5 separate regions of the Homo sapiens genome follow, and all the other regions are linked to region 1. The links are contacts of gene promoters, found by promoter capture Hi-C in blood cells and fetal thymus (Javierre and others, 2016). All regions are on one chromosome and are shown on one strand. Each heading gives the region's core, a stretch centred on a gene start or on the middle of the fragment in contact. The rest is flanking DNA. Distances are from core to core; before and after follow the strand shown.

Evidence for each region. The method cuts DNA at HindIII sites, captures the fragments that hold promoters and counts their contacts. A CHiCAGO score of 5 or more calls a contact.
Region 2: a fragment that was not itself captured here is called in contact with the fragment with the promoter of HSPA12A in region 1 in 1 of 17 cell types (naive CD8 T cells); the score reaches 5.4 in naive CD8 T cells.
Region 3: a contact is called between a fragment that was not itself captured here and the fragment with the promoter of HSPA12A in region 1, in 13 of 17 cell types (naive CD4 T cells, naive CD8 T cells, total CD8 T cells and 10 more). The highest score is 13.8, in naive CD4 T cells.
Region 4: a contact is called between a fragment that was not itself captured here and the fragment with the promoter of HSPA12A in region 1, in 2 of 17 cell types (naive CD8 T cells and monocytes). The highest score is 7.3, in naive CD8 T cells.
Region 5: the fragment with the promoter of VAX1 here is called in contact with the fragment with the promoter of HSPA12A in region 1 in 3 of 17 cell types (M0 macrophages, endothelial precursors and monocytes); the score reaches 5.4 in M0 macrophages.

Annotation. Positions count from the first base shown.
Region 1 is chr10:116,739,335-116,745,097 of GRCh38, forward strand. HSPA12A (heat shock protein family A (Hsp70) member 12A) reads right to left here and starts at 3,232. Exons shown (of 12, transcript NM_025015.3): 1 at 3,096-3,232. The coding sequence starts at 3,135. RefSeq lists enhancers at 3,097-3,801, 3,802-4,505 and a silencer at 3,097-3,546. The HindIII fragment of the contact is 20,528 bases long and covers 1-5,763 here.
Region 2 is chr10:117,219,591-117,225,353 of GRCh38, forward strand. No RefSeq gene overlaps it. Among named protein-coding and RNA genes, the nearest start is that of SLC18A2, 19 kb to the right of the region's middle. RefSeq lists an enhancer at 3,112-3,612. The HindIII fragment of the contact is 182 bases long and covers 3,501-3,682 here.
Region 3 is chr10:117,169,777-117,175,539 of GRCh38, forward strand. No RefSeq gene overlaps it. Among named protein-coding and RNA genes, the nearest start is that of MIR3663HG, 3.6 kb to the left of the region's middle. RefSeq lists an enhancer at 5,343-5,522. The HindIII fragment of the contact is 6,412 bases long and covers 48-5,763 here.
Region 4 is chr10:117,153,772-117,159,534 of GRCh38, forward strand. The region is part of intron 2 of MIR3663HG (MIR3663 host gene); the gene reads right to left. Among named protein-coding and RNA genes, the nearest start is that of MIR3663, 11 kb to the right of the region's middle. RefSeq lists an enhancer at 5,589-5,763. The HindIII fragment of the contact is 292 bases long and covers 2,860-3,151 here.
Region 5 is chr10:117,135,623-117,141,385 of GRCh38, forward strand. It overlaps VAX1 (ventral anterior homeobox 1), which reads right to left and starts at 2,648. Exons shown (of 3, transcript NM_001112704.2): 1 at 2,194-2,648; 2 at 850-1,037. The coding sequence starts at 2,434. RefSeq lists enhancers at 4,231-4,817, 4,818-5,403. The HindIII fragment of the contact is 11,137 bases long and covers 1-5,214 here.

The DNA of each region.
Region 1 (5,763 bases), core at 1,982-4,481:
TCAATATTCCCAGGTTTCAGCACACACTAAGTCCTCAATAAAAGTGAACGTTTAAAATGTTTATTTTTATTAAGATGAACCTCCAGGATGGCATCTCCAAAGCCCAATGCCAGGCCTCGAGAGATACCCTCAACCCAGGCAAAACTGCCTGCCCACCATCCCTCTCCTCAAGCCCGTGCCCTGGAAAAAATGACTTGGTTTCCACTCTTCATGTCTAGCCCTGACTTGGTCACCATAGGAGCCATCCCTGTCCGAACCACTCTGTCCACCCCCAATTCATCTCACCCTTCTAGGGCTCCATGTGTCAACCCACTCAGGTCATGCGGGAGGGGGCAGGATTGAAGGTCATCTCAAATTTTGCTGTCCAACACCCAGACCCTCAAGTGTGGCCCTTCAGATTTTGTAAATTAAGTAATTTAAACATCTTATTAAGAAAATTTGCAAACATACACAAAGTAAGCAGAATAGTAATGAACCGCCGCTCCCCATCACCCAACTACCACATTTTGCCATTCTTGTTTCATTGGCACGCACCTCTGCCCACTCCCCACCCCACCCCAACTGCACTTGTTGGAGAAGATTTCATGGCCAGCCTTTCTGACACCACCCCCCAACACCACCTACCCACCAGCAAACCCCTCCCCAACCCAGGACTGCCACTGCTCACAAATTCCAACAGTGTGATATTTGTGGCACCCATCCTTTTGTACCAAAAACATTCTGGAAATCCTTCCCAGGAAGCACAACCATTTTTTTATGTCCTTAATAGAGTGGTAACCACTGCACACATGCATAAGGGCTGTATGCACAGGTTGGTGCCCTGGAATCAGATGGCCTGGGTCCCAAACAACACTTCCCAGATGTGTGACCTTGGATAGGTCACTCAACCTGTGTTTGGATTTCCCACCCAGGAAGGGGAGAATGCTGGTAACAGGTTTGTTGTGAGCCTTTAAAACAATAAAATAATGCACGCTCTTTTCCCAGCAATGAGGAAACCTTAGAAATAAGTGTAGGGGCCAGGGGCAAGCCAACTCTGCTCCTATGCAATACTATTCACATCCTCCATTTTACAGATAAAGGGAGAGGTGCCCAGAGGCACAGTGAGCTGCCAGGGACAGCCCGCTCTTCAGGTTGGTCTCTGTCCTAAGTCCATGCACCTGGAATTCTCACTGGCCACCTTGAGCTGGAGATGACTGGAAGTGAAGAAACAAATACTCCAGAACAAACGCAGAAGAGCGGTGGCAGGTGGCTCGGCACACCAGGTATGGGTGTCCCCATCCTGGACAGGATTTCTCCCAGCACCGTGTGTGTGTGTGTGTGTGTGTGTGTGTGTGTGTGTGTCTGTGTGTGTGTGTGTGTGTGCGTGTGTGTGTGTGTTAGGATAGGGGTGCTGAATTTGATTTACAAGACAAAACAGTGTTGGGAAAGGTGTGGGGAGTGGGTACACATTCCTGCCCACTTCTGATTTGACAAATCCTATGCCCAACCTTGTATTTGGTATCATCGCCCACCCTATCCCAGCATGAGAGGCAAGAAACTGGCTCAGTAATTCTCAGGCTTTAGCAATTCAACGCCCCTACTTATCGTCCTAAAAATTTTTTTATTTTCTGACTTAAAGGAAAAAAGTAAAAAAAAAAAAAAAAAAAAAAAAAAGAGTCAATCCAGTTGCTGAGTGATGTTCAGACAAAGACAGCTGCCAGTCCATTGCCTGCGTTCACCAGCTGAGGAAGAGTACAGGCGGGGACTGGGTGTGTGTTTGGGGACGGCCTGGGCTCTCCGCTGCCTCTCCCTGGAGTGAGCCCTGTCAGGATCCCCCACCCGCCACCCTGCACTCCCCCACCACTGCAGTGCCGCGTGGGGAGGCACCTCCCTGATCCGCAGGAACAATGGGCTGGGGTGGGGGCAGGTGCGGCTTGGAGTGCAGCAGAGGGTGGGGGCCGCAGGCCCGACAGCAAGACAGGGAACCCAGCGCAGATGGTGGCTGTGCTGCCACTGGACTCAGTTTCTCCAGCTTTTGGGGCCCCGCAGAGCCAAGCGCTCGTTTCGTGGCTGAATCTCCCTTGCGTCCCGGCATTTTAATATCATCCTCGCAGGCGGCTTGCCTGTCGCTCCCGGGAAAGATGCCTGGGCCGCGCTCCTCTCCCCGGCGGCCGCTCTCGCCGAGGCCCTGCAGGTCAGGGACGCGCGGCGCCTCCATGCGCCCAACTTTCCCCACTTGGGACCCACAGGAAGACTGGAATCCTGGCCAGCCGGGCCCTCCGTGGGAGAAGCCTTGATTTACAGCCCTGGGCTCCGAAACCTGCTCGTCCTCTTCCCGCAACCCCCTTCCCCGTCCTCTCCGGCTCCCCCACCCTTCGGAGCCCTAATCACGCTCCCCAAAGAAAGCGGCCCTAGCACATCTGCAAAATGCGAGCGTCTGTCCTCCGCACTGGGTGCCTCCCCCTGCCCCCCGCAAGGAAGGGACCATCGAACCCCCGCCGCTTCACCCTTCCCCAGCCCAGTGAGTCCCTGGGGATGGGCGGGGAGGTGGGTGAGAAGCCCTTCGGCCGCAGCTGCAGCCCCCACTCCTGGCTCGAGCGTCCGGCCGGGGTGGGATGGGGCGAGGGAACAGGTCCAAATCTCCGATTTCCCCCAGGCTCCCACTCCTGCCTCGCTGAGTCACGAAAATTACCCGCTGGGGCCACCCGGCCACCCGGCGGCGGGCCCTTTACCCAGCCAGCGCCGGCCTCCGCAGCCCATCGCGCGGGGGCTGCACACGCGGGGCGGTCCTCACCCGCACGCGCGACCAGCCCCGCAGGAGGCGCCACCCGAGGCAGGGACCAACCAGGCGCCTCAGCGGGGGCTGCAGTCCCCGCCGCGGAGTCCGCACCCTGGCGGGGCGCAGAACATGTGACCCGCGGGCCGTCTCCGGTCCACCGGACCCCGGCCCCCGGCCCCGCTGCTGCTGACCCCGGCCCCGCCCGCCAGAACTGGATGCAGCGCGGGCGTCCCCACTTTTCCACGGCGCGCGAGGGGGTGCGGAGCGTTGGGCCAAGCGCGCCTCCTCCCTCCCTGCCCCGCCAGCCGCGGCCGCAGGACCCGCAGCCTGCGCTCACCTCGGGGCCCGTCGCTGCCGCCGGCCTCCTTGTCCGCCATGGTCGCGCAGCCCCGGACCGCGAGGGGAGCCTCCAGCGCAGCGCCCGTGCCCGTGCGGGTCTCTGTCCGCGTCCGCGGCGGCGCTCGGGCCGTGTCTGAGCCGCCGGGCAGCGGGAGCGCTGCTCTGACGCGGCAGCCGCCGCAGCCACGGCTCCTCCCCGGGCCCCGCCCCGGCCCGCCCGGCGCCCCGCCCCTCCGAGCTCGGGCCGGCCGGGAAAGGTCGGGGAAGGCGGGCGCGGGGAACTGCCTGGCTCCGGAGCTGCGCTCCCCGCCCGCCCAGAGCGGCCCGCCGAGGCCCGGCCTCTCCTCTCCCGGCTTCGGGACCGAGCGGTCGCCCCGCAGTCGACCGCGGCGGGGGTAGTGGCGCGCCCGGGGCTGCGCTGCGGGAGCGGATTTCAGGCCCTCGGGGCCCCGCGGCGCGTCCCCTCTTTGGAAGTCACCGAATGGCCAGGCCTGGAGCCCTTCAGCAAGCCCAGCGCGCCCGGCGCTCTCCCGAGGACGCCCGCGCCAGTCCCCACCAGCTTCTGTCTGTCCCCCAGGGTCCCAGGGGAGCGGCCCTGGGCCGGCGCAAAGGCGGGCTGGGTGGACCCCGGCGCGGGCAGGACCCAGGCCGCAGACCAAGGACCTGCGCGGGGGCCGAGCCCGGGGCACCGCCTCCAGGCCGCCTGCGGGACTCCATGGCAACTCCGGACCCAGGGAGGTGCTTGCCCCGGAGGCTGAGTCGCGCCTTCCATATATGGGATCCAGCTGGGCCCTCCTTAGAAGTCTGAGAATAACGATATTAATAATGCAAGGCTTCAGTTGTGAATGATTCATACTCCCTGTCCCCAGCTCCTCCACACACACGCGCCGCTGGCACCTGTTTGGGCCTGGCCAGGCACCCCCTGGGTCCGCGGTGTCACCACCCTGCCTTGGCAAACGAGGGCAGTAATAGGAATCCGAGGAGCACCGTCACTGGGTCGTTTCCGGGTGCCTGGCACTGTGCTACCTGCCTGGTGCTTTACCTCTATCTCCTTTCCTCCCCATAACTAACATTTTGCAGATAAGGAAGCTGAGGATCGGCAGGGTTACAATATCACACCCAGCAGGTGAGTCGCGGAGCTGGGATTCCCACCCAGCTGTAACCACCAGCATCCCTCACTTCCAGAGATGGGTGGCATTTCCCAAAGATCACCTAGGGGAGGCTTCATCGTACAATCCCGTTCTGGATGACGGAGTGGGCAGAGAGCTGCTGCGAGAGCGTTATGGATGACGGAATGGGCAGAGAGCTGCTGCGAGAGCCTGGAGACCAGAAGGTGATGGCAGAGTGACAAGTTCAAAACACAAAACTTGTCTTCTGTCTGCCTGCATTAAAAATCCCAAATGGACAGTTCCTGGCTGTGCATGAAACCACAGTCAAGTTATTTAACCTATCTGAGCCTCAATATTCTCATCTGCGAAATGGGTATAACAGGAGAACCCACTTCATAAAACTGAAGATTAGATAGACTATGCATGTAACATGCTTAGCTTGGGATCTAGCACATGGTAAAAATCATTAAGTCACTGATGGCCCCCGAGGGCCCTTCCTGCCTACGTGCCTGCGACAGCCTGCCCACAGCTCCCCCGCCCTCCTGTCTCACCCCTTCAGTCCATGCTTTGTGATCTGGTCTGTCCCCACCCTACTCCAGCTCCAGCTACAGCCGCTCTGATTCTTCAATCCCTCTCACCCACCCCTGCTTCTCTTATGCTGGTATTTCAAAGACATGAAAATGTGCTTGATGCCTGGATCACCCGTCCTCTCATTTCACCACCACCAGCAACCTAAGAACTTCTCCTTCTCATCATGGACTGCCCAACTCCAGGAAGGCTCCCCTGCATACCCATGCTGGCCAGGGGGGCCCTCCTCAGTGTCCTCAAGGCACTCGTTCCTCCCCATCAGACCAGGGCATCAGGACATTGGCCTTGACAGCCTGTCAGAAGCAGCAGAAACCCGTAGCCCCTGCACATCTGCCTCCTGCTGTGGAAGGGCCTTGGGCGCCACGTGCCCTCATGGGACTCCCAGCCACAGTGACATGAGGGTGCGTGAGAAGGATGGGAGGTGACATGCAGGCCCCAGTGCTGGGGGCAGAGAGCAGAACACTTTTGATTTGCAGGGGAGCATGAAAGGCAGCGCACACTCTGCCTGGGATTTGCCCTCACGGCCTTCATGCTCATCACACTAATTACAACGCGCCCTGCTGAGCACACCATCCAGCCCGCCAGCGAGGGGCTGTTGTGGTCTCACCTAGTTCTCATGGTGGCCCTTGCGGTTTTGCAGGAGAGGAAAAGGAAGCATTCAAAGGCTGAGGCACCTGTTCAGGCATCCTCTGGCCATCAGCAGCAAGGCTGGGGTTCAAGGCTCAGCACGCCACATCAAGGAAGGGTTCCCACCTTCCTCCCTGGAGTCTTCTTCCCCAATAGCAGCCAGAGAGAGAGCATGTCATTCTCCTGCTACCAGGTCCTACACAAATTGGCCTCCTGATGCCTCAGTGACCTCAGCTCCTTCCACTCTCCCATTCCCCCCAAAGCCCAAACACACACAGGCCCCACCTGGGGGGTCACTCCCCCGGACACATCCTTCAAGAGAATCAATCACGTGGCTTGCTC
Region 2 (5,763 bases), core at 2,342-4,841, 480 kb after region 1:
CCAGCTACTCGGGAGGCTGAGGCAGGGGAATGGTGTGAAACCTGGAGGCGGAGCTTGCAGTGAGCCTAGATCACGCCACTGCACTCCAGCCTGGGCAACAGAGAGAGACTCCGTCTCAAAAAAAAAAACAAAAAAAACCCAAGCCATCCCCATTACTATGTTTTTTGTTTTTTGTTTGTTTTTGAAACTAGGTCTCACTCTGTCACCAGGCTGGAGTGCAGTGGTGTGATCATGGCTTACTGCAGCCTTGACCTCCTGGGCTCAAACGATCCTCCTGCCTCAGCCTCCTCAGTAGCTGGGACTACAGGCATGCCTGGCTAATTTTTCAAACTTTTTGTAGAGACAGGGTCCCATTATGTTGCCCAGGCTGATCTAAAACTCCTGGGTGCAAGGGATCCTCCCACCTCAGCCTCCCTAGTAGCTGGGAATACAGGCGTGCACCACCATGCCTGGCTACTTTTTGTATTTTTTGTAGAGATGGAGGTCTCGTTATGTTGCCCAGGCTGGTCTTGAACTCCTGGGCTCAAGTGATCCTCTTGCTTCAGCCTTCCAATGTGCTGGGATTACAGGTGTGAGCCACTGCACCTGGCCCCCATTACTGTTTAGGAGGCAGATAATGGGATGGCTCAGCTTTCTCCAGCACTCAGCTCATTGCCTTTGATGGAGGAAGAAGAGGTAAATTTCAAGGTAAGAACCTCAGGCCTGGTGGACTTAGGAGGGGTTTGCAAGATATGCTCAGTGTGGCCACCACTGAGGCCCCAGTCTTTGGGCAGAGGTAGTCTAGGCAGCCCCCACCCAGGTGGGGCACCCACAGCAGCCGGCAGTCACCACATGTTGGATGGGAGACTTTCTTCTGCAGCTCCTGCCTTGATGCTCTGGGCATGACTATCTTTCTTCCCCAGCCTGTGCTTGTCACATTCTCCTGGCTTCCCAGGCACCACATTTGCCTGGTGCTCACTCTCATCTCCCTCACCTACCCCTCCTTGTTGGCCCGTGTGTTCCATGGCTTATACCTTGGATACTCGGTCTCTTGCTCATTGATATGGTTCGACTGTGTCCCCACCCAAATCTCCTCTTGAATTGTAGCTCTCATAATTCCCACGTGATGTAGGAGGGACCCGCTGGGAGATGATTGAATCATGGGGGCAGTTTCCCCTATACTGTTCTAGTGATAGTGAATAAGTCTCATGAGATCAGATGGTTTTATAAGGAGAAACCCCTTTCGCTTGGTTCTCATTCTCTCTCTTGCCTTCTGCCATGATTGTGAGGCCGCCCCCGCCACTTAGACCTGTGAGTCCATTAAATCTCTTTTTCTTTACAAATTGCCTAGTCTCGGGTATGTCTTTATCAGCAGCGTGAAAATGGGTGAATACATCTGTCTCTGCACCCTCACCATGGTCTCATCACTCTGGTGGATAAAAAGGCTGCCTCCCTCCCTGAGTTCTCCCCAGAACTCCGGACTCCCAAACTCCTCCTGGGCACCTCTAACCCGACACATCCCAAAGCAAGCGCCCCTCCTGCCATCTCCGTGAGTGGCAGCTCCAGCAGCCCCACCCGGACTGTCTCCATTCAGCTTTCTCCTCCTGCTCTAACTTGAGGGGCGCGTGTGCAACTGTAGCCCCCCAGTCTTGCCTGTACCTCCCAGAGATGCTGATGCAGCCAGTTTCAGGTGGTGGAGCTGGGCATTTGTTTATTTTAGAAGCTCCCAGGGGACTCTGGTTATGATTTCATTCATTGACTCATTCACAGGCCTTTGTTCAGCGACTAGTGCCAGACACGGGAGTGTTATCTCTAAGGAGTGACCCGATGCACAGGCACCTGGTGGCTACTAATGCATGCTTGCAGGATGACAGTGCAGCCAATCGAGGTGCTGACCCAGACCCCTCTCCCCACAGACTGAGAGCCAATAAGACGTGCTGGGTGGAGGCTGGCGAGGTTGAGCGGCAGCCCCTGTGTTCTCTGCCCCACCTGGCTCTCTGAAAGCCAGGCACATGCTATGGCTGGCAGAGGGCTGGCCAGGGTCGAGTAGCCTGGGCAGATTGGTGGTTGCCATGGTGACTGATGTGCATCTCCATGCAGCAGAAAACTTTGAAGTTGACTTGGATGTGGGACAACAAAGGGCACTTCCATCTTGGATGCAAATTGTGGCTCCTTTTCATCCTCCCTGGCCCTCTACTCCTCTGCTTTTATTCTTGTCATTAGATCAGGAAATTAAAACCTTTCAAATGCTGTACATTCCAAACATAGGCAATTACAGACCCTGTCTCAGAGGCAAGTCCCTCCTTTAGCCTCTTCAAAAAGTAGTTGCATTTGTAGAAAAACAGAGATGACTGTGCAAAGGCCGTCAGCATTGCCTGTGTGTCTCTTCCAACAAATATTTATTTATGCAAAAAATGTATGTTGATCCAACTAATCTGTATCTGTCCAACCGATATTTATTGGGCATCTATATGTGCCAGGACTGACTGAGGTGGATGCTGGGGATGCAGTGTGCTATAAGACCAACCAGGTCTTTGCTCTCACATAGTGTATGGTCAGGACTGTCGCTCTGTGCCTCAGTTTCTCCAGTGTATAAGCCAGTGGAAGTAGCCCAGGCATTTTCATGTGGCGTTTTCTGAAACCCATGGGCAGATCGGAGTCTCTTATCCCTGATTTGGTCTGAGTAGCTTTGCTTTGCTATGTTTTATATTTGGCTTCTTATAATGTTTTGTTTGAATACAGAAGTCCATAATTAAAGACAGAAAGGGTGGGGTAGAACTGAACACCACTGACCAAGGATTCCCTAAGGTTTTTCCAGGTGGAATGTTCTGTGATGTTGCCAGCTAAGAGGACTGTAGGTTCTCTGGGCTGCTAGGCCACAACAAGGGGGCTGATATACGGGACCGGGTCAGTTGCATTTAGGATGTAAACCTGCCTGAGATGATTGACATCTGCCTTCATTTTAAATAATGCAACAAGAGAGCAAATCCTGCCATGTTTCTCACTGAGGTGACCAAGGGCTTCATTTCCAAAGGCATCTTCCCTCTCACACTCCGGATCCTACCTGGGCCTCAAGGCCCCACCATCACCCCTTGCTCCCAGAGCTCCTTCAGGGCCAGCAGCCTTCAGGGACGATGCCCTTTTCCGGGATGCCCCTGCCCCAGCTGCTCTTGATGCACCCACTCTGTGATGATGTGGGGTCCTGGCCTCTCTCTCCAGCTGGGCTGTGTGTTCTTCAAGCGTGAGGCTTGTTGAAGGGATGTTAGGTGAGGTACCGGTTGGTCTTCCTTATTCCCTGAAATGCAGGTGGGAGAAGCTAGTGGCAGCCCAGTGGGCCAGCCCTCTGCCACCTTTCCCTCCCTTCTCAGCACCCTCCCTCCTTCCTTCTCAACAGGTGACTGAGGGACACCAGGCTCTGATGACAAAGACATCCTGACTCTTTTCCAAAAGCCACATACAATGTCTGGGCAGGGAAACAAGAAGTGGGACCGTGCATTTTATGGATAATCTTTTGTTTTGAAAGCTTCAGCAAAGCACTTATTGACACAGCCAAATCAGACAACTGTCATGTGCCGCCTGCTGCCTGGGCCTGCTCCAGGTCCCAGCTGTCACTCTCCCCTAGGCTGAGCTGTCTTGTGTTTGTTTCTTTGGGATGCACATTCCTTCTCTCCCTGAAGGCTAAATTCATGCAAAGAGCAAGGAAAGCTTCGGGGCTGCAGAGCAGCTTGTATCAAAACACCCTGAGCTGTCTGAAGCCGCCCACCCTGGGGGCTGTTGGAATTTTGTTCTCTTCTCTTGTTGTCATGGGGCCTACACAGAGATCAGAGGCACCTTAGGAGCCAAGGCTGTGTCTTCCACTGCATTCCACAAGGCCCTTCAGGCCCTCTGTTAACTCACCCATCTAAGAGGTGAATGGCCCCCATTCTCCAGAATCATGGAGGAATCCCAGGACAGTGAGGACCACACACAGATGGCCTTCCAGGAGACTGGACAGCTGGGCTGACTGCAAGATGGCTGGCTCCTGGCCTTCTGTGGTGGGTGGATACTGATGCCCTTGGCCTTCAGGTGGCCTGAAGATGCCAGCCCCATTTTGCTCAGAACCCAAGGCCTCAAAATTCCCTCTTTGCACCCCTCCTTTGAGTCCACTCCCATCCTCTTTGAGCCTGAGCTGTTTGTTCTGAGCTGTGTTTCTCCCTCTTCAGGTCCACCCCACCTACCCCTGCCAGGGGATGACCCCCTCTCCATGGCTTTAATGTCCCACCCCCTACATGGAAGCCTCTCTCTTGCCCCCAGAGTATGGCGGAGCTCTGTGGACTTGAACGAGGGATTTTTTCCAGCTCTAATTGCATGTCGATTAGTGCCCAGCCCCCATGCAGTGTTAGTTCCACGAGGCAGGATGACTGATTGATTCACCACTGTGACCTCAGAGCCTAGCACAACTTCTGGCACATAATAGGTGATCAACAAAAATGAATGCATGAACAGCAGATGGCTCAAAATGAGCCTTAATTATGTGGCAGGACTACAGGATCTAGAAGGCCTTCTGGAGCCCGCTGGTGCTGGGCTGGAAAGCTGAGCCCGGGTCTGAACCTGAAAGGAGTCACCATTCACCTGGGAAAAGACCTGGGCAAGGAGGAGCCTGGATAGGAGGGGAGATGAGTCAGAACATCCTTTGCTCTGTGCCAGTCACTTTGCTATGGTCCTTACATCTTTTAATCATCACAAGACATACAAGGGAGGTGCTATTATGATCCCCAGGGCTGAGATGTGAAGTGACTTGCTCGCAGTCCCCTACTCAGTAAGTGGTAAAACAAGAAAGGGATCCAAATGAGAAAGTTTTTCTCCAGAGCTTGGCTCTTACTTGACCACACATTGCATGCACTGTGCAGTCTTCAGCTGACCCTTGGTTTTGGCTGCAGTCATACCAAGAAGGGGCCGAACACCTGTCTCTTTAAAGTGGGCAATGGATATGTCTGTCATTGCCGTATTACTGTTGCCTCCTTTCAGAAATAAAGAAAAGTGTTCTTGGCTGGGCGTGGTGGCTCACACCTGTAATCCCAGCACTTTGAGAGGCTGAGGCAAGCAGATTATCTGAGGTCAGGAGCTAGAGACCAGCTTGGCCAACATGGTGAAACCCCATCTCTACTAAAAGTATAAAAATTAGCCAGGTGTGGGGGCATGCACCTGTAATCCCAGCTACTTGGGAGGCTGAGGCAGGAGAATCACTTGAACCTGGGAGGCAGAGGTGGCAGTGGGCCGAGATCACGCCATTGCACTCCATCCTGAGCGACAGAGTGAGACTCTGTCTCAAAAAAAAAAAAAGATGTTCTTGCTGGCTTAACTGCACATGCCACTGGGCCCTTGCCCAGCTAGAGTGTCAACCCCATATATGCAGGGCCATGGCCTCCACTATCGATGCCCATAGTGACAGGCACCGAGGCCAGCACATGGTAGGCCCTAAGCTAAGATTTGCTGATGGGGACTCAGCCTCCCTAGAAGTTAGAGGGACTGGAAATGCTCTTTCCCCACCTGTTGACATCCCCACCTGCTGCCTGGGGACCAGCAGGATCCTGCCATGAGTACAGGGATCAGAGGCCTAGGTTGGTTGGCACCCACCAAGCCTACTCTGGCCAGGCTTTGAGGGTGTGTTGGAGAGGGCCTCCTGGCGTTCCAGATGGAGTGCTGGTGTGAAAAAGCATCTCTTCCCCTGCTCACTCCCTCAGCCTTCTCTCCCCACTGTAGATTTCAAACTAGCAAAAATGAAAGTGTGGCCTGGGGACCAGA
Region 3 (5,763 bases), core at 2,004-4,503, 430 kb after region 1:
CCACAAACTTCACATTCCTAAACACCCTGGAGTATCCAGCTGGCTGAAGCTTTATTTTAACCACAATTCCTGGCTAGAGCTTGGTTTTCACTGAGTTTCAGCTCTAGGGCCAGAATGACCTGGGTTTGGATCTTGATTTTTTTTTTTCTTTTCACTTATTAGCTGAATGACTCGGGGGCATGACTTACCTTCTCTCTGAGTGTCAGTTTAGTGCAATCTCACATGGTTGTTACAAAGATAAAAAAACAAAACAATGCATGTAAAGAGTTTGGCATAAGCCAGGGAATAGTATCTGTTATTTCTCCTAAAGCTGGACTTCGGTGAGATTTTAGCTAACGAAGGCTTGAAAATTAGGTTTGAGTTGGGGCATCAGAAGTTTTCACGTTGCATGGAGGGTAAGACTAGAGCCAGGGATGCACCACCACACCCAGTGATCATTCATGAGTTCACCCCTCCCAGGATTAACAACTGAACTCTCAGTGATGTCTTATCTTATAAGGCTCTAGTCTTATCCTCCATGCAATGTGAAACCTTTTCAGGTTCTCCAAGGATCCTCCTAGGTCCGACAGTCATCGTGGGCTTTTCTTGGGGGCAGTGCTGGTCTTTCTCCCCTGTATTCCTGCCTCTAGCATGCGGCTGGGCACACGGGGTCAGTGCTGTCTGCTGAAAGAATGGTTGATGACATCATCCCATCACGTGGCCTTTGCATAGCCAATTCCTTCTGCCTGAGACATTTATGCCTTTTCCCTTAGCTTAATTAACCCTCTCTGAATGGGTCAAATTCCCCTGGCATATGCTCTCAGAGGACCTCAGTGCACTTTCTCTTCAGAGGGTTTATCACTGGTTAAAACGTTAGATTTATTTGTTACTTATTTGTGTGATTACCAGATAGTCTTTCTTCTGTTCTAAACTTCATGAGGGCAGGAATCATGGCTGTTTTCTCATCATTGTATCTTTAGCACTTAATGCAATGGCTAATTGTTGAATGCAAGTGGTTTTTATGGTAGGGGGGAGTAGCTAGATTCAGAAACTGGTTTAACCCTAACCCTCACCCTAATCAGCAGTCATAGTAGCCAATTCACAATGCACTATTTCAATATGTTGTATAGGAAATTAATCTCCAGGCAAACTATTGCGCTACCAGGCAAACTATTCTGGAGGTAATACAATAGAAAGATCTAGTTAAGATACTTGAATCATACAGATTGTTGAATAAATTTTAAACACACAATGAGAAGCAAGAGGAAAGAGATGGGGTAGGTTAACACATATACCACAGAAGCAGGTGGGAAGTCCCCTTCCTGAATCCTGGGCCATTTAATATGCAATGTTCACATATTGCCTCCCACCCATATCCCTCCCACCCATATTAACTTTCTTTCTTAATGATGTGGTTACAAGGACCATAATTGAGGATGAGTGAAGGGACCCAACAGAAAGAAGGTGCCCGAGGCAACGATACACGCTTTTGCTATTGGAGAGCCAGGGGCAAGTTCTCCTGGCCACAGCAGGAGCATCCATTAGCCTCCTGAACAGCTCTCTCTGTTTATCTGTGCTTCTTGGGCAGAACACAACTGGGACCATAATGGGTGTCACCGATGGATGAGTGGCTGATTTTGGGAATCAGATAGCTGTCAGCCCTGATGTAGCATGAATGTATCTTACAACTTGGTCTTTTAATGTCTCTCTATTGGTCCATAGCACTCTGGTTTGTTCTATTATATGTTCCACTTATTGTATCTGTCTTCAACATCTCCCACAGGTTATTGATTTACTCATTATCCATGTGAATTCTGTGAGTTCTTCCTGAGTCTCACAGCTCCATCTTATTCATCCCCTCTTCTACTTAACACATACTATGAATTTTGCTTACGTCTTATAATCTACGGACTTGCTTGCTCTCCACATCTCATACTTATTATGAATGTATCCATTTGCTTTTCTTACCTTCTGAAGATTCCCAAATAAAACAGTACACAGGCACTACACAACACATTTATTAAATGCCTACTGTGTGCTAAGCATCATACTAGGCATCGGTAATCCCGACAGGATTCCTCTGAAACTTTCCATCTAGTGGAAAGACAGTTAACTAATCCCCCAGTCCTGTGAAATGATCCACTGTGTCAAGTGCCAGGCAGGGCTGGGGGAGATCTCTGCTGTCCCAGGAATGTGGAAGTGGGCAGTCCAGGAGAGCTTCCTTGACGATGTGGCATCTGAGGTCTGAGATCTGAAAGGTGAGCTCTAGTGTCCTAGGGTTTCAGAAATCCCTAATAAATAAACATCAAGGCAAAGTGTACTTTTGTTTGCACTATCTTAGTTTTGAGTCATATTTTGACTATTTCTTGTCCAACTTTGCCAGAGAACACTAACCTGTTGTAGTCCCCCAAAAGCACGAATGTTATGTTTTATACAACGATTGGAATGAAACACACCTATTGGCAAAAGATGCTGCACAACAGTGTTTAGGCTTACAAATGGTTCTAATGGGGATCAACAGCCTATAATTAGAATTTAACAATCCAAGAAAGGAGTAATATGCACCCTGCGGGACAGATTGGAGTCTTTTTCTTTAGTTCTGCAGGTTTGGTGGGTAGACTGGCTCCCGACTTCCCTCCTACAATAACTGTCCTACTGAGGTAAACATGTCACAAACAAGAACAATGAGATCACCAATAATATAACACTAATACCATAAACAAAAGAAACACCACCTTCGGCTCTGGTGGAATGAAAAACACAATGTGGACCAACTAACAGAGCTATTTAAAAAACAAATTACTCACAGCCAAGCCTTCATAGCTCTCCAAATGCAATTTTCCAGGAAGCTCGGTAACAAGCAGAAGTTTTTCCTGAGACGTACTAGCTTTTGCTGGTTTGGTTGCAGATCTGAGGTGTTGGACAAAGAAGAAAATGCCCCACATAAACCCACCATGACACTTATTCTCCCGGATTCCTCATTTTTCTCCCAACGTGAGACATTTCTAGTCACAGGTTACTGTAAATGGAGAGTCTTGCCAGCGTCAGTTCATCAACGACATTTTCCTAAAACCTCAGGCTTTGCACAAATGCCAAAACCCTCATCCTTGATAAGGCCATTTTTTTTAAAATGCACACATGAATAACAGAATGTGCACATTTTTATTTTTATTTTTATTTTCGGAGTCTCACTCTGTCCCCAGGCTGGAGTGCAGTGGCGCTATCTTGGCTCACTGCAATCTCTGCTTCCTGGGTTCAAGCAGTTCTCCTGCCTCAGCCTCCTGAGTAGCTGGGATTACAGGTGTGCACCCCCACACCCGGCTACTTTTTATATTTTTAGTAGAAACGGGGTTTTGCCATGTTGGCCAGGCTGGTCTGGAACTAACAGCCTCAGGAACTGCCCTTCCAACTAGAACCGAGCCAGACTGTCACCACAAACATCAGAGGAGTCTCAGCCCTGTTCCTCATTGCCCCTCTTCCTCAAGCTGCCCTGTGAAATGGGGATGCTGGGGAAGGCAGAGGCAATGGCATGAAGGCTCTAGGCCATTTCAGAGGAGGCACTAGCTGACATGAGGATGAAAATCACTGATGAAGGGGCTTGATCATCCCTGAACCAAAACCCTGAGTGTGCACCATCTTGGACAGAGTCTGCATTTTTGACCATGCATGAGAAGAAAGAGAATGCAAGTGCTCTCTTCATTCAGAGTTTTGAACCCAGATGCCTCAGAGGGCGCCTTCCACCCATCTCAGCTACAAGTCATGAATGGCAAATGAGACCTGAGCAGGGGAGGCCTGGGGGACAGCAGCAGCTCCCTGTTGGTCCTGTCGTCCCTCTTGAAGGTGCCTGCCAGTGCAGGCCAGGCTGGAGGCTGCAGTCATCTCTTGGTAGAGGGCAGGAGGAACTCAGGTCTGCCTGCCCTCTGAAGCCTTTCCAGACATCCCCAGGAATGGCTGCCGTTACCCAGTAGTCACGCACGCCTCAGATACATTGTTTTTCTTTTTTTTCTCCCCCAAGGCTCTGTTGCTTAGGCTGGAGTGCAGTGGTGCGATCTCGGCTCACTGCAACCTCCACCAGGTTCAAGCAATTCTGCTGCCTCAACCTCTGAGTAGCTGGGATTACAAACATGTGCTACTATGCTTGGCTAATTTTTGTATTTTTAGTGGAGACGGGGTTTCACCATGTTGGCCAGGCTGGTCTTGAACTCCTGACATCAGGTGATCCACCTGCCTTGGCCTCCCACAGTGCTGGGATTACAGGCGTGAGCCACTGTGCCTGGCCAGATGCAGTTTTTCTCATGCTTGTCCTTGCACATCTCCTGGGTGCAGGAATGTCTGGATCCCACAACAGTGATCTGTGCTGAACCCCCAAACCTGAAAGTCAGGGCCAATTCTCTCTGCCTCCCCCACTAGGTGAGGTCTTAGATTTTGCATGAAAACTAAAGGCCCATGAGCCCAAGGGTTCTCCCCTCTTTACAACTGTCTCCAAACTTAAAGAAGGAAATTGCTGGCTGAGTATACCCCCAGAAGAAGGAACAAGTGCTAGTGACATATTCACATGAGGACGGAAGCCTCATGAATTCAGACTATTCTAAGATACAGGTCATCTTAGGTGGGCTTTGTCATGCTTTTGGACGTGACTGCTGCATCTCCTTCTAGGAGAATTGAACCACTTCATCCTGGCAGCAAAACACACTGCCCACATCCCCATCCCAAACCGAGATGAGGGTCTGCAGTAAGAAGCGGCACATGGAATCTATAGCCGGAGTGGTTCTGACTTTAATTTCAGTGCCTGGAGAACACAGTCACAGCTCTTATCACTGTTCACAGGGCAGCTGGGGGAAGAGGGGCACTCAGGAATGGGGCTGGGACTCCTCTGATGTTCGAGGTGACAGTCTGGGCTCTGTTCTGGTTGAAAGGGCAGTTCCGGAGGCTGTAAAGCCTGGCAGAGGAGGGGAGGGGAGCGAGGGTGCTAGGATTCAGTCCTCTGGAGAGAACACTACAGACTGAATGCAGAGGCAGGAGTTCTGATTTGGAGATCATTTGGGTCTGAAGTATTTGAGTCTGAAATGAGGGAAACTCACGGTGGAGGACAGCTATTCTGTCACTCTGCAGATCCAGCATTATTCCACCATATGCTTTTCACGAATTAGTAGTGAAGTTACAATCTTGGGCGTTTTAAACTGATCTTTGCACCTGCTGGTGGCAGAGAACAGCATTTCCCCCGCCCCCGACTTCCTTTATGAGCTGGGAGGAAGCAAAATCCAGCTCTATTGTTGGAGCTCCCTCTGGTGGCAGTTTCCGAAAACGATCCAGCCCTGAGGATTTTGCGGAAGGTAGGCAACACCGAGGCATCCTGGGCATTCAGTAGGAAGCAATGAGAGGAAAGATCCTTGGCCCTTTCAGAGATGGGGCGAAGGGTCAGCTGTCCCCTCTGCAAGGTGGCAGATTCAGAAGAGTTGGAATTCCTCCGGAGTCGGCCCTGCCAACATGCGCACGTGTCCTGCGGGGTCAATGATCTGTGCAGACGACTTGGAAATCCGCTGCGTGCCGCCCAGGCGCGTGCATCTTTGCTTACCCTTTCCTAGATCGGTCTCAGCCCCGCAAGCAGATTGGCAGCTTCCGGGGTGCTGGGACGGCGCCCCCTCCTGCCTTCCCGCTAGCATCTGGCAGGGACTGGAGTGCTTCCTGGAGACCCGTAGGCCGGGGACAGGTCACCAGGTGAAGCAGCGCGCCTCCGGAGCTGATGCTGGGTGGCCGACTGCGTCCGCCACTTCTCCTGCCCGC
Region 4 (5,763 bases), core at 1,756-4,255, 410 kb after region 1:
TTCCCTAAAGGTTCTGTCTCTAAATACAGTCATATTGGGGGTTAAGACTTCAACATATGAATTTTGGAGGAACATAATTCAGTCCATAACAGTGTGGAATGACTTTTTTTTCATTCATTCATTTACTGAGCAACTAAGAATTGCCACTCTTAGGTTAAATGGCTGGAGACATAGCAGTGAAAAAGGCAAACATTGGCTTTGTTCTTAAGGACTTTTTTTTTTTTTTTTGAGACGGAGTCTCCCTCTGTCTCCCAGGCTGAAGTGCAGTGGCACAATCTCAGCTCATTGCAACCTCTGCCTCCAAGGTTCAAGTGATTCTCCTGCTTCAGCCTCCTGAGTAGCTGGGATTACAGGCATGCACCACCATACCTGGCTAACTTTTTTGTATTTTTAGTAGAAAAAGGGTTTCACCATGTTAACCAGGCTGGTCTCGAGCTCCTGACCTCAAGTGATCCGCCCACCTCAGCCTCCCAAAGTGCAGGGATTACAGGCGTGAGCCACCGTGCCTGGCTTAGGAATTTAAGTCTAGAGGGAGAGGGTAGCAGCAGGCAAGGAACAGGTAAACACATCAATCAGCTGGATAATTCAGACAGTGTTAAGTGCTACAAGGTCATAGAATGTGTGACTGGGACTGTTTTGGCCAAGCATGTGCAGAACCAGGGAAAGAGATTCCCAGGCAGAACAAAGACAAGGGCAAGGGCCTTGAGGCAGGAATGTGTAGCATATTAGAGGAACCGAGGAAGGCTCCTTTGGCTGAGTCAAGGAGAGAGTGAAAGAAGAGCTTGGAAAGGAAGCAGGCAACAGGCCATAGAATGGCTTCGTAGGCTACGAGAGGGAGTTTATATTTATTCTAAGAGCAATGGGCAGCCACAAGAGTTTGCGATCTGATCAATGCTTTTAAAAGACCCCTGTAGCAGTGTAAAGATACCTCATAGCAATGTAAGAGTGCAAATAGGGACCCCAGTGAGGAGGCTCTTCGTTCGTTCACCCAGCAAATATTTAAGGAGCACCTACCTGCCACATAATGTGCTGAAACCCACTCTCAGGGAGCACAGAGCCTCCTGGGTTGCAGGATGGGACCTCACCTGCCATATGTGCTCCTAGTGCGGGATACTTCTAATCTTCCACTGAAATGTCAAATGAATCAAGACATTCCTGAGGGCTAAACTTTGTGGTCCAGGCTGCCTGTGGGGAAGGAGGTCAGAAGAAAGAAAGCGCTGGCCGGGGTGAGAGCCAGACTGTGCCCATGGCAACTTTGAAGATGTGGAACTCAATCCTGGCATTCAAAGATGAGCATAGGAGAGAAGCAGGTGCCTTTCTTCCAATGGCTGCAGAACCATGTCTAAACACCTCCCCATGCACATATGTATTTATAAACAACACTTCAGGCTGAGCACCAGCTCATGCCTGTAATCCAGCACTTTGGGAGGGAGAGAAAGGAGGATCGCTTGGAGCCAGGAGTTCCAAATCAGCCTGGGCAATGTAGTAAGACCCCTGTCTCTATAAAAAATTTAAAAAATAGCTGCACGTAGTGTTGCACACCTGCAATCCTAGTTACTCAAAAGGCCGAGGCTGGAGGATCACTTGAGCCCAGGAGCTTGAGGCTGCTGAGAGCTACAGTTGCACTACCACGCTCCATCCTGGGTGAGAGAGCAAGGCCTTATCTCAAAAAAAAAATTTTTTTTTAAAGAACACATGATACTGTTAGAGTACTTTCAAATATAACTACATAAATGTCTCATGAAAGTACACATAACAGATGTGCTGGTTCCTTATGTTTTCCATCTGAATAAATACAATGCTCCTTCAGTTTAGACCCAACCAGGAAACCTGTACCATAGCCCTGCCTGACTCTACGCTTCCCCTTCCACCCTCAGTCAAGGGCGGCTGGGGAATGTCCTGATGCACAGGCAAGGGGCAGAAGTGCGCAGATGCAGCCCATAGCTAGAAGGTAGACATGGCAGGACCTGCTGTTGGATTGAGTATGAGGGAAAGGGGAATCCAGGATGACTGCAAGATCTACAGAGGACAAAGGAAATACACATTGAGGGGGAGTGGAAACAATTAAGATCTAGGCACTAGCTTAGCTACTAAGAGGCTGTTTGATTCTAGGCAAGCATTTCTCTGTCTAGATCTCAGTTCCTCATCCCGAAAATGAGACTTCTAAAACTCAATAACTGGCCGGGCACGGTGGCTCACGCCTGTAATCCCAGCACTTTGGGAAACTGAGGTGGGCGGATCACTTGAGGTCAAGAGTTGGAGACCAGTCTAGCCAACATGGTGAAACCTCGTCTCTAGTAAAAATAAAAAATTAGCTGGGCATGGTGGCGGGCATCTGTAATCCCAGCTACTTAGGAGGCTGAGGTAGGAGGATTGCTTGAACCTGGGAGGTGGAGGTTGCAGTGAGCCAAGATTGTGCCACTGCTCTCCAGCCTAGACAACAGAACAAGACTCTATCTCAAAACAAAAACAAACAAACAAAAAACCTCAATAACCAAACTATATATGTTATAATATTTAATATCCACCAAAATTTATAGAATGAGATGACAAACATTTGTATAACCACCACTGAGCATAAGACACACAGCACACCAATGGAATTGAAGGCCCTCTGTGTACCCATTCCTATGGCACTCCCTCCCTCCTGCCCCCACCCCAGATAGAATGATACTACCATGCTACTAAATCTGGCATTTATTATCTCAAGTGCCCTCTTAAGGTTTAATAATAATTCTGTTAATTTTATGATTTGACAAGACCTCTTAATTTTTTGGCGTAATTGACTTGTAGTTGACAGAAATCTTCCATACCTACCATCTCATCTGATTTTCACCAAAATCCTATGAGGATGTGCTAAGCTTGGGAAGATTCTCTCCAGCTTTTCATATGAGCAAAGTGAGGTTCCGAGTGTGATATGTCATAGCACTTAGCATCCTGACCACGTTTCATCGCATTTCATGCTTTGTTTTCCATTGCTAGTTATTTTTTCATGTACCTTTGTATCCATCACTAGACTGTAAGTTCTTGAGAGCAGTGATCTCTCTCCTGAAGCTGTGGCCAGTGTGGTAACGTTACAGGGCTCAGGCTTCAGTAAAAATAAATAAATAAATACCCAGTGATGAGGGGAAAGTAGCCCACGTTACGGAGAAGCTTCTGAAGCCTGAGATAACACAGATAAGGTATGTAGAAACTGGACCTAAAGAGAGGAATAAGACACAGGATGCCCAACAGAGTATGACGGAGCTCCACGGACTGGAACCCATGACACAGCATGCTGGCAAAATTTGGCTGTTATAAGTCACGCCCCTGATGTTTGAAAAGGCAAAACAAGGAAGTTTTCGGAAGAGCTGTAAGAAAGCAGAAGGGTTATCCGGTTCACTTGTTGCCATAATCCTGGACTTTCTGCAAACACATCATACACCATGACATCATGATGTGTAATGGGATCATATCACAAAAAACCAATGTAATGCCATCAAAAGCATGACCCTTTAAGAATATTTCAGAATTCACACATTTAGGACTAGGGAACTTTAAGGAAATGGTATTAAAGACAGCCATGATCTACGGCTGGGCGCGGTGGCTCATGCCTGTAATCCCAGCACTTTGGGAGGCCGAGGCGGGCGGGTCACCTGAGGTCAGGAGTTTGAGACCAGCCTGACCAACATGGAGAAATCCCGTCTGTAGTAAAAATGCAAAATTAGCCGGGTGTGGTGGCACATGCCTGTAATCTTAGCTACTTGGGAGGCTGAGGCAGGAGAATTGCTTGAACCCGGGAGGCAGAGGTTGTGGTGAGCCGAGATCACACCATTGCACTCTAGCCTGGGCAACAAGAGTGAAACTCTCTCTCTCAAAAAAAAAAAAAAAAAAAAAAAAACAGCCATGACCTTAAAAATTTTGTCTCACTCAAAGCTGGAGTGGATCTCTTTTGTTCCATAGACTTCTCTGAGCCTCCCAATCCATCAGTAGGGAAATGAGAACTTCTTACAAGCCATTGTAAGAACTTCTCCCCTATTTCAGGCATTCCTTATGAAAGCTTTTTTTGTCACATGTCTGATATCCTTAAGGAAAAATAAAACGTGTTGGCCTTAATGATTTCAACCTCTTAGACTTAAATGGAACACAGTAATATGCCAGTTAATTTCTGCTTGTAGGTTCCCAAGTAGGGCTTAAAAATATATTCTAGCTTTCTCAACTATTTTTCATAAAGAAGAATCATCATGACTGTGAAGACCACTGTGATTTGTGGAATAAATCCATAAATGTATAACCCAAACAGATCAACTAAATGAAGCTTCCCTCGAGCATGACAGTAAGTCGGCTGGGCTCTAGGAACAAAATGTGTAAGCACAACACTCACAGAGTGGATATTCTTTCAAGTGATAGAGACAGGGTTGGGAAGGACTCTAGAGTTAGAGCCTTCCATGGGCAGTGCTGTTTATTGTATACACAAATAATAGTGACAATCGCTAATATTGACTGTGGAATGCTTTACATGCACCTTGTCATTCACACTTTCTTACAAATAATGGGGCACTATTCCTTTTATTTCTTCTACTCTTAGAAATAACAGAAGCTCAGAGTGGTTAGTAACTTGCTCTATCACCTAGAGAGCAAATGGGGGAGCCAGGCTTCAAATGTGGGTGTGTCTGCCTCCTGATCCCCAACTCTTAAGCATTTTGCCATTTCATCTTTCACCAAGGCTCTCCTGCTCTCCAGCATGATCTGGGCTCTGAACTGTTTCTCCACTAGCCATCTGAGGATAGGTTTCCACCAATTCAGCCACCGAGCTGCTGGAGACGGGGGTTATTAGATTACCATCTCAGAGCAAAACAAAATCAGTATAAAATCTTAGCCTCATTAGCATGGGACTCAGTCTCCTCAGGTAGCCAGTCTTGGCCATTGATTTTTTATTATATGCAGCAGTTACATTTCAGTTTCTCAAGTTACTCATAGCTACATATGAGTAATAAAATGATAGCAACAACTGGAGTGATGCTAACCATTAGTTTGCCTTGAGTCCAAGGACAAAACAAAGTCTTAAGTGTCCTACTCACTCCTTAGCTCCAAAGTAAACAAGTCTTTCTGCTACTAGTACTGGATTAAGCTTCATAACATTGTCCAGGTGAAAGTACTTAGGGCTGGAGGCCTGTGTAGATGCTTGTAAAGAGGGAGATGCTTTGGCAGATTAAACCCATTCTGTGGGCTTGTTCTATTTTCTGGAAAATCTCAAGTATGACAAAATAGCTCCAACGAGTTATTGTTCATCAACATCTGTCATAAATGTTAGAAATCTTGGCATCATTTATCTCTATCTCAATCTCATCTCTATCTACATTTATAATTTACTTATGTATTTAAAAAGAAATAGAAAAAAACACCCTGGTCTAATGGAAAACATCTCAGCTCTAGTGGTTCCCAACCTTTTGGGGTTTGAGAATCAACAACACAATGTTATGAAACCTTTTGGGGTTTGCTATTCAATAACAAAACAAAAAAAGATAAAACAACTATAAATAAATCCTATCTGGCTGATTTAAATTATAGAGCTCATGCAGCTTGAGCAAACCCTCTTCCCTTAGCCATGGTGTGATTCCTCTTGATTGAGAATCGAGTTTCTAGGCTACTTCTCAGAGAATGAAATTACAAAACACAAGATAGCAGATTTTTAAAAAATTGTCACCAGGTATCCCTGCTGGATATCAAGTGACTGGGTCAGAAACTCAGTTGGAAACTCTGCTTAAAGAAGAGCGGAACAAA
Region 5 (5,763 bases), core at 1,398-3,897, 400 kb after region 1:
AGGGTTGGGCATGGGGAAAAGGATCAGTCTTCAGAAAGAAGGCTGCCGTAGCTAGGCCAAGCTGGTGACATGCCACTTGGCAAGTTCTTGGGTCCTCTCCTGGGCCCAGAGCCCACATGGCCAGCTCCAAGGGGCATCATATGGATTTAATGTAAAGGGAAAGATCTAAAGCACAATCAGCAGTACTGGCTTCTGGGTCCTAGATCTCCTTCCCATCACACACCTCACACATCACTGGCCCAGAAGACAGGGTCTCCTAGGTGCTCAGGGCTGGGGCCAGCTCAGAATGGGGAAAGCCTTCCTTTAAGGGTCAGGGCAGCCTGATCTGCACAGGCAGATCTCCAGGAGGGCGTACACCTAATTCCTGGGAATCACCCATGGTGCTGGGGCAGGGGGTGTTAGATCTAGCCTCACTCCTGTAGAATGGGCCTGGACGCTGAGTACAGCTGGGTGGGCCCACAAGGGGTGGGGCCTAGAAATCTAGCCAAAATGGGGTACCCCAAACAAGGGCAAAAGTCAGTTCTTTGTAGAGCAGAAGCTCGAAGGAAATGCTCAAAACCGGGGGACAATAAAAATTCCAAAAGGACAGGATTTGGGGCCTTCTGGGCCTAGGCCAAGGTGGATAAAACATGGGCCCTGGAGGATTTGGGGATGGCAGGAATGGTGGGGGGAAAGGATGTATTATCTAGGGGAAGGAATCCTTAGGCCTGTCTTACCCATCCTTCCCATCTCCTCCACCTCCCAAGGGTAGTTCTGTCCAGAGCAGGTTAGGAGGTGAAGAGCAGGCTAGGTAGGGGTGGTGGGGAGGAAGGCTGGTGCAGAACTGTGTGCGGCCTGGTCGCCGGGTACCTGGGTCTCGGAGAGGTTAAGCTGCCGGGCGAGCTCGGTCCTCTCGCGGCCCACCACGTACTGGCAGCGCTGGAACTCCATCTCCAGCCGATAGAGCTGCTCCGCGGTGAAGGACGTGCGCGTCCTCTTAGGCCGGTCCAAGTCCAGGCCCTTGGGCAGGATGATCTCTCGGATGGACCCCTTGGCATCTGGGGAAGGGGAGATGTCAGCCGCCAGAACCCTCCCGTCCCCCTCCACCTCCTTGGCCCGAGCTGGATTTGGGGACACAGTCCCCAGAAGCGTGCAGTTTTGGGGATGGGGGGCGGGGTGCGGAGCGCGACCACAACCAGGTAGCAAAGACACTGTGTGGAGGGCAAGGGGCCTAACTCCATACCGCTGACCGAAGGAGGGACCACACTTTGTCTTTTTGTAGAGTCCTCCAGACAGGGGAGAGAAAAAAATCCAATCAATTCCACATAGGCGGACGTTTCTTCCGGCCTGGGGGGGCCTCGGCTGAGCCTTCCGGGTCCCCTGTAGCCTGAGGGTACCCTTGTCGCCCCGCCCGGGTCCTGCGGGCCCCAGCTCTGGGCTTGCCGACCAGACCGTGATCCAGACGTCCCCACCCCCACCCTCGAGTCTCCTTCCCTCCGGAGTCCGCGCGGCGGAAGGAGGAGGGACTGAGTCGGGGCCGGCCGGGCCCGGAGATCTGCTGCTGGCTGGGGCGGCGCCGGGCCGGGGCCCGGCCTCGCAGCCTCCGCCGCCGGGGCTAAGTGCACGCCGCGCCATCCGAGAGCGGCAGAGCAGAGCACCAAAGCGGCAACCGCGGCTCCGTAACCAAGCCCAGCTGCCTCTCCCGGCGGCAGCGGTCGGGCACCGATCGCGGCCGTGGGGTCCTCGGCCCAGTGCACTAACTGGCAGGGCCGTAGCCCGCGATCGGCAGCTGTTCTCCGGGGCTCGCGTTCCCCCTTGGGTGCGCTCAGCCCTCCAGAGCGCGGGAGTCCCCTGGCCGGCTCCCGGCAGGTCGTCCGGCCCTTGGAGCGCGCACACCTCCTCCCGGAGTTTTCTGCTCCTTTCCCGGGTCGGAGGCCGCAGCCCGATGCCCGGCCGCACCCGCGCAGCCCCTCATCTCCCCCCGCAGCCCGGTCAGCGGGGCCCCTCCGGGCGTGGAGGGCCGAGGCCCCTGGAGAGCGCACCGGAGAGTCCCAGGCGCTTGTCCCCAGCCGGACTCGGGGCGGGGAGGGCCAACAACTTTCTCCCAAGTCCCAGCCGGCACTCCTTCCCACCGGCCTGTGTCGGCGGCAGCGCGCAGCTCCGGCCCCGGAGTCGACCCCAAAGAACGCGCCTGGCAGCCCTGCCCATCCCTACCTCGGACCAGGATCCGGCGGCAGTAATCCGGGTCCGCTGCGGAATTGGATTTACTTTTGTTACAATCCTCAGCAGCGCCCGACGCTGAGAAGGCGCCCTGCGGCTCCTTGAGGAAGGCGGCTGGGAGGTTCCCCTCCGCGCCCTTGCTCTCCCGACTCTCCTTGTGCGCGTTCTTCGAGACCCGGGCAGCCTCGGCGTCCGAGTGGCATCGAACGTCCATTTTGTCTGGTTTCCCGAACATAGGCAAGAACAACAACAAAAACAGAAAGGAAAAAAAAAGCAAAAAAAAAAAAAAGGGGGGGGGGCGGAGAAGGAAAAAAAAAAGAGGAAAAAGGGGACAAAACCCCCGACAACGCGGCCCGTACGCCCGGCCCGGCGACAGGCAAGGGGCAAGAATGAATGTCCCCGCGGGGAGGCTTCGGCGGCCGCGCGCGGGTCAGCGGCGACGGGAGAGTGGCGCGCTCGCCGAGAGGCGGCCAGTCTGGTCCAGGATCCTGGTGGAGCTGCGGCGAGGCCGCCTCGTCAGCACCCGCGTCCTCTGAGCACGTCCAGTGTCCCCAGCCTGGCGATCAGGTAGCGAACAGCGCAACTCCGAAATGCTGCGGCTCCCGCCTGTTTCTGAGACGGCGAGTTGTAGTTGTCCGACACCCGGGGGGACGCACACTCGCTGTTGCAATTGATTACGGGTAATTTCGCAGCCCCCACGTTTCGGTTACCTCATGAATACACTAAATTGTTTGGATAATATATCAGATCGTAATGGATGGTTTCTGTCCTTGTCCCCAATCAAGTAGGGGTTTAGCCAGTGAATAAACGGAAATGATTGGTCTTGCTTTCAGGAAACACACAATCAAAGACCCACACTTCCAGAAAAACTTTTGACAAGATTCATCCTGAATTGTTAGTACCATTAGCAGGCATTATTAACTTTCCTTTTGCCTTTGACCCTCCTGCTCACATACTGGCTAGAGGGGTTTTCTCCACACTCGCCAGATAGAGCTGAATGAGGGTTGGGCGGCGGGGGGGTGTGGGGGGAGAAAAAAAAAACCCTGCGCACCCTGCGGCAGAAGAAAGCAGTTGTCTGGGAGTGGGGGATGGGGGACAGAGCGGGGGGAGAAAGTTTTCCCAAAAAGTATCTCCCTTGCACTCTAAAAAAGCCAAGATTTTCCCCTAAACAACTCCTTCTTAACACACCTCGACGCAGACAGCCATCTTAAACTGCCACCTCTCTTCATTTAGTTCCAGTTGGATTTTTTCATGCCTGCACCTCCAGCAGCCCTGAGGCAGCCCATTCAAAGGGCAGCTTTGTACTCAGAGTCCAGCAGGAGAGAGAGGGGGAGAGGGAGAGACGGCCGAGAAATCTCAACTGTGAGATCTGCTTCAAAAAAAAAAAAAAAAAGTTTTCCCCTAGCTATTTCATTGTCTCTGCTACAATATCTTTGAGAAAAGCAACAGCCAGTAATCCAATAAGAGCATTGATTAGGCTACAATGATTCAATTCAAGCGCATGGCCTTGTGCAAGGAGCATGCTCCAGCCCTTCTCGTCACCTTGCCGGGGCAGAAGCCCTCTCCACGCCGCTCTCCCCATTCATTCCTTTATGGGAAATGCGGAGCAAAAGGAGTGAAAGATGGCAATTATCTAATTGGACTATTAACAAACAGTCCTCTGAGTGCGGCGGTCTGGCGTGGCTCCTGGGCGGGGGAAGGGCCGTGTTCCCTGCCCTCATTCACAAAGAGTGCAGGGGCCGGGGAGGAAAGGGGTTTTTTAAAGGGGGTGGGTGGGGGGAGAGGAGAGGTGGGAGGTTTGGCTGAGAATTTTTCCACACAATTCCAAGAATGGGGCGGAGGCGGGGGGAGGGGAGGGGGTTGGGGAGGGGGTCGCGGCGAGCGGGTGGGAGGAAGGCCGGGAGGGGGAGGGGTGCGAGTGTGTGTGGCGGGCCCCTAGGGGCTCCAGCTCGCAGCGACGCGCGCACCGTCCGCACCTCCCGCCCCGCCGCCACCTCCCCTGCCTCCGCCGCCACCCCGCGGGACCCCTCTACCGTCCCAAGCCAGGAGGGGGCCCCCTGAGCGGGGTCTTTCGCGCTGTCCACCCAGCCACCCCTCCAGCCACTTAGGGGCACCCAGGTTTGGCCCAGCTCCGGAGGGCATCTCTGGCCCTGCAGGCCGACATCAGGCTTCCACTTTAGTTGACTGGGCGGAGCGGTGGAACTGTCCCGAGCTACTCTCCGCAGGGCGGCGGGTTTCCAGGGTCCCCAGCGGGCTGATCGCCCCTCAGCCCGGCTTCGCTGCGCACGCTGCCCTCGAAGTCCGACGCCGACTGGGCGCCCGGGGAAAGTGCCTTTGATTACGAGCTCTGCTCCGGCGGGTTGGTGAGGCGGGTGGGAGCAGAGACGGGTAAGAGGGGTAAGGGACTTTGCGGCCACCCTGTTCTGAAGATGTAGAGTGGGATTGTGTTAAAATCCGGCGAACTCTCCTGTTACCTCCCGCAACGCTCAAAAGCCCAGACTGGCGCCTTGAGGCACCGAGGGCTTTGCTCCCATGCGGCCAAGCCGTCGGGGGTGCAGCCGCCGGGTCTTGACTCCCACTACCGCGTCGCGGGTGCGGGTCCCTGGGATTCGGGTCCTCCTGATGGGGGTCCCTGCAGCAGATGGGGCATTCACTTCCCTGCAGAGCTCGGCCCGAGGGAGCTCCTGGGCCTCCTTGGGCAGGGAGGGGTGCGACCGAATTCCCTGGCACACCGGCCCTTCCTTGCCCCCTACCCTGGAGGGGTTGGAGGGGTCGGACCCTCGGACTACGCGAGATCGGGTGCGCAGGAGGATTCTAGGCCTTCCTCAGCCCTTTAGGAGCCCTGCAGGCGGCGGAAGTCCCAAACCGCAGCCTTGGCCCAAATGGGACCCAGATGGCTCTGGGTCCCCGGCCCGGCCGCACCCCTCTGTACGGCCTCCTTCTGTCGGTGAAGGCCGCAGCGGCCTGGGAAACCCATGCGGACACCTGCGGCGCCCGGTCAAAGACCTGGAAGAAAGCTTTTTAAAAAATAAAAATGGCCCAACCCATTACATTTTCTTTTAGGTAGATGGGGGAGCTGGGGGGCGGGGCGGGGGCAGTCAGGGAACAAACAGCTGCCCTTAGAAATGACACGCCCTGTGGGCAATGGCGGCGCTGGGACGTCTGCAGCCGCATTCACTGCCACAGAGAACGGCCAAAGTATGGCCAAATCCCAAATGCAAATTTTAAGTTTGGCCTCGGAAATTTCTGCCCTCCCTCATCTTGTGGCATATTTTGTTGTAAGGGGGAACTATTTGTTTGTTTGTTTGTTGTTTGTCTGAGACGGAGTCTCACTCTGTCGCCAGGCTGGAGTGCAATGGCGCGATCTACGCTCACTACAACCTTCGCCTCCCGAGTTCAAGAGATTCTCCTGCCTCAGCCACCTGAGTAGCTGGGACTACAGGCGCGCGCCACCACGCCCAGCTAATTTTTGTGTTTTTATTGGAGACAGGGTTTCACCATGTTGGCCAGGATGGTCTCGATCTCTTGACCTCGTGATCCGCCCGCCTTGGCCTCCCAAAGTGC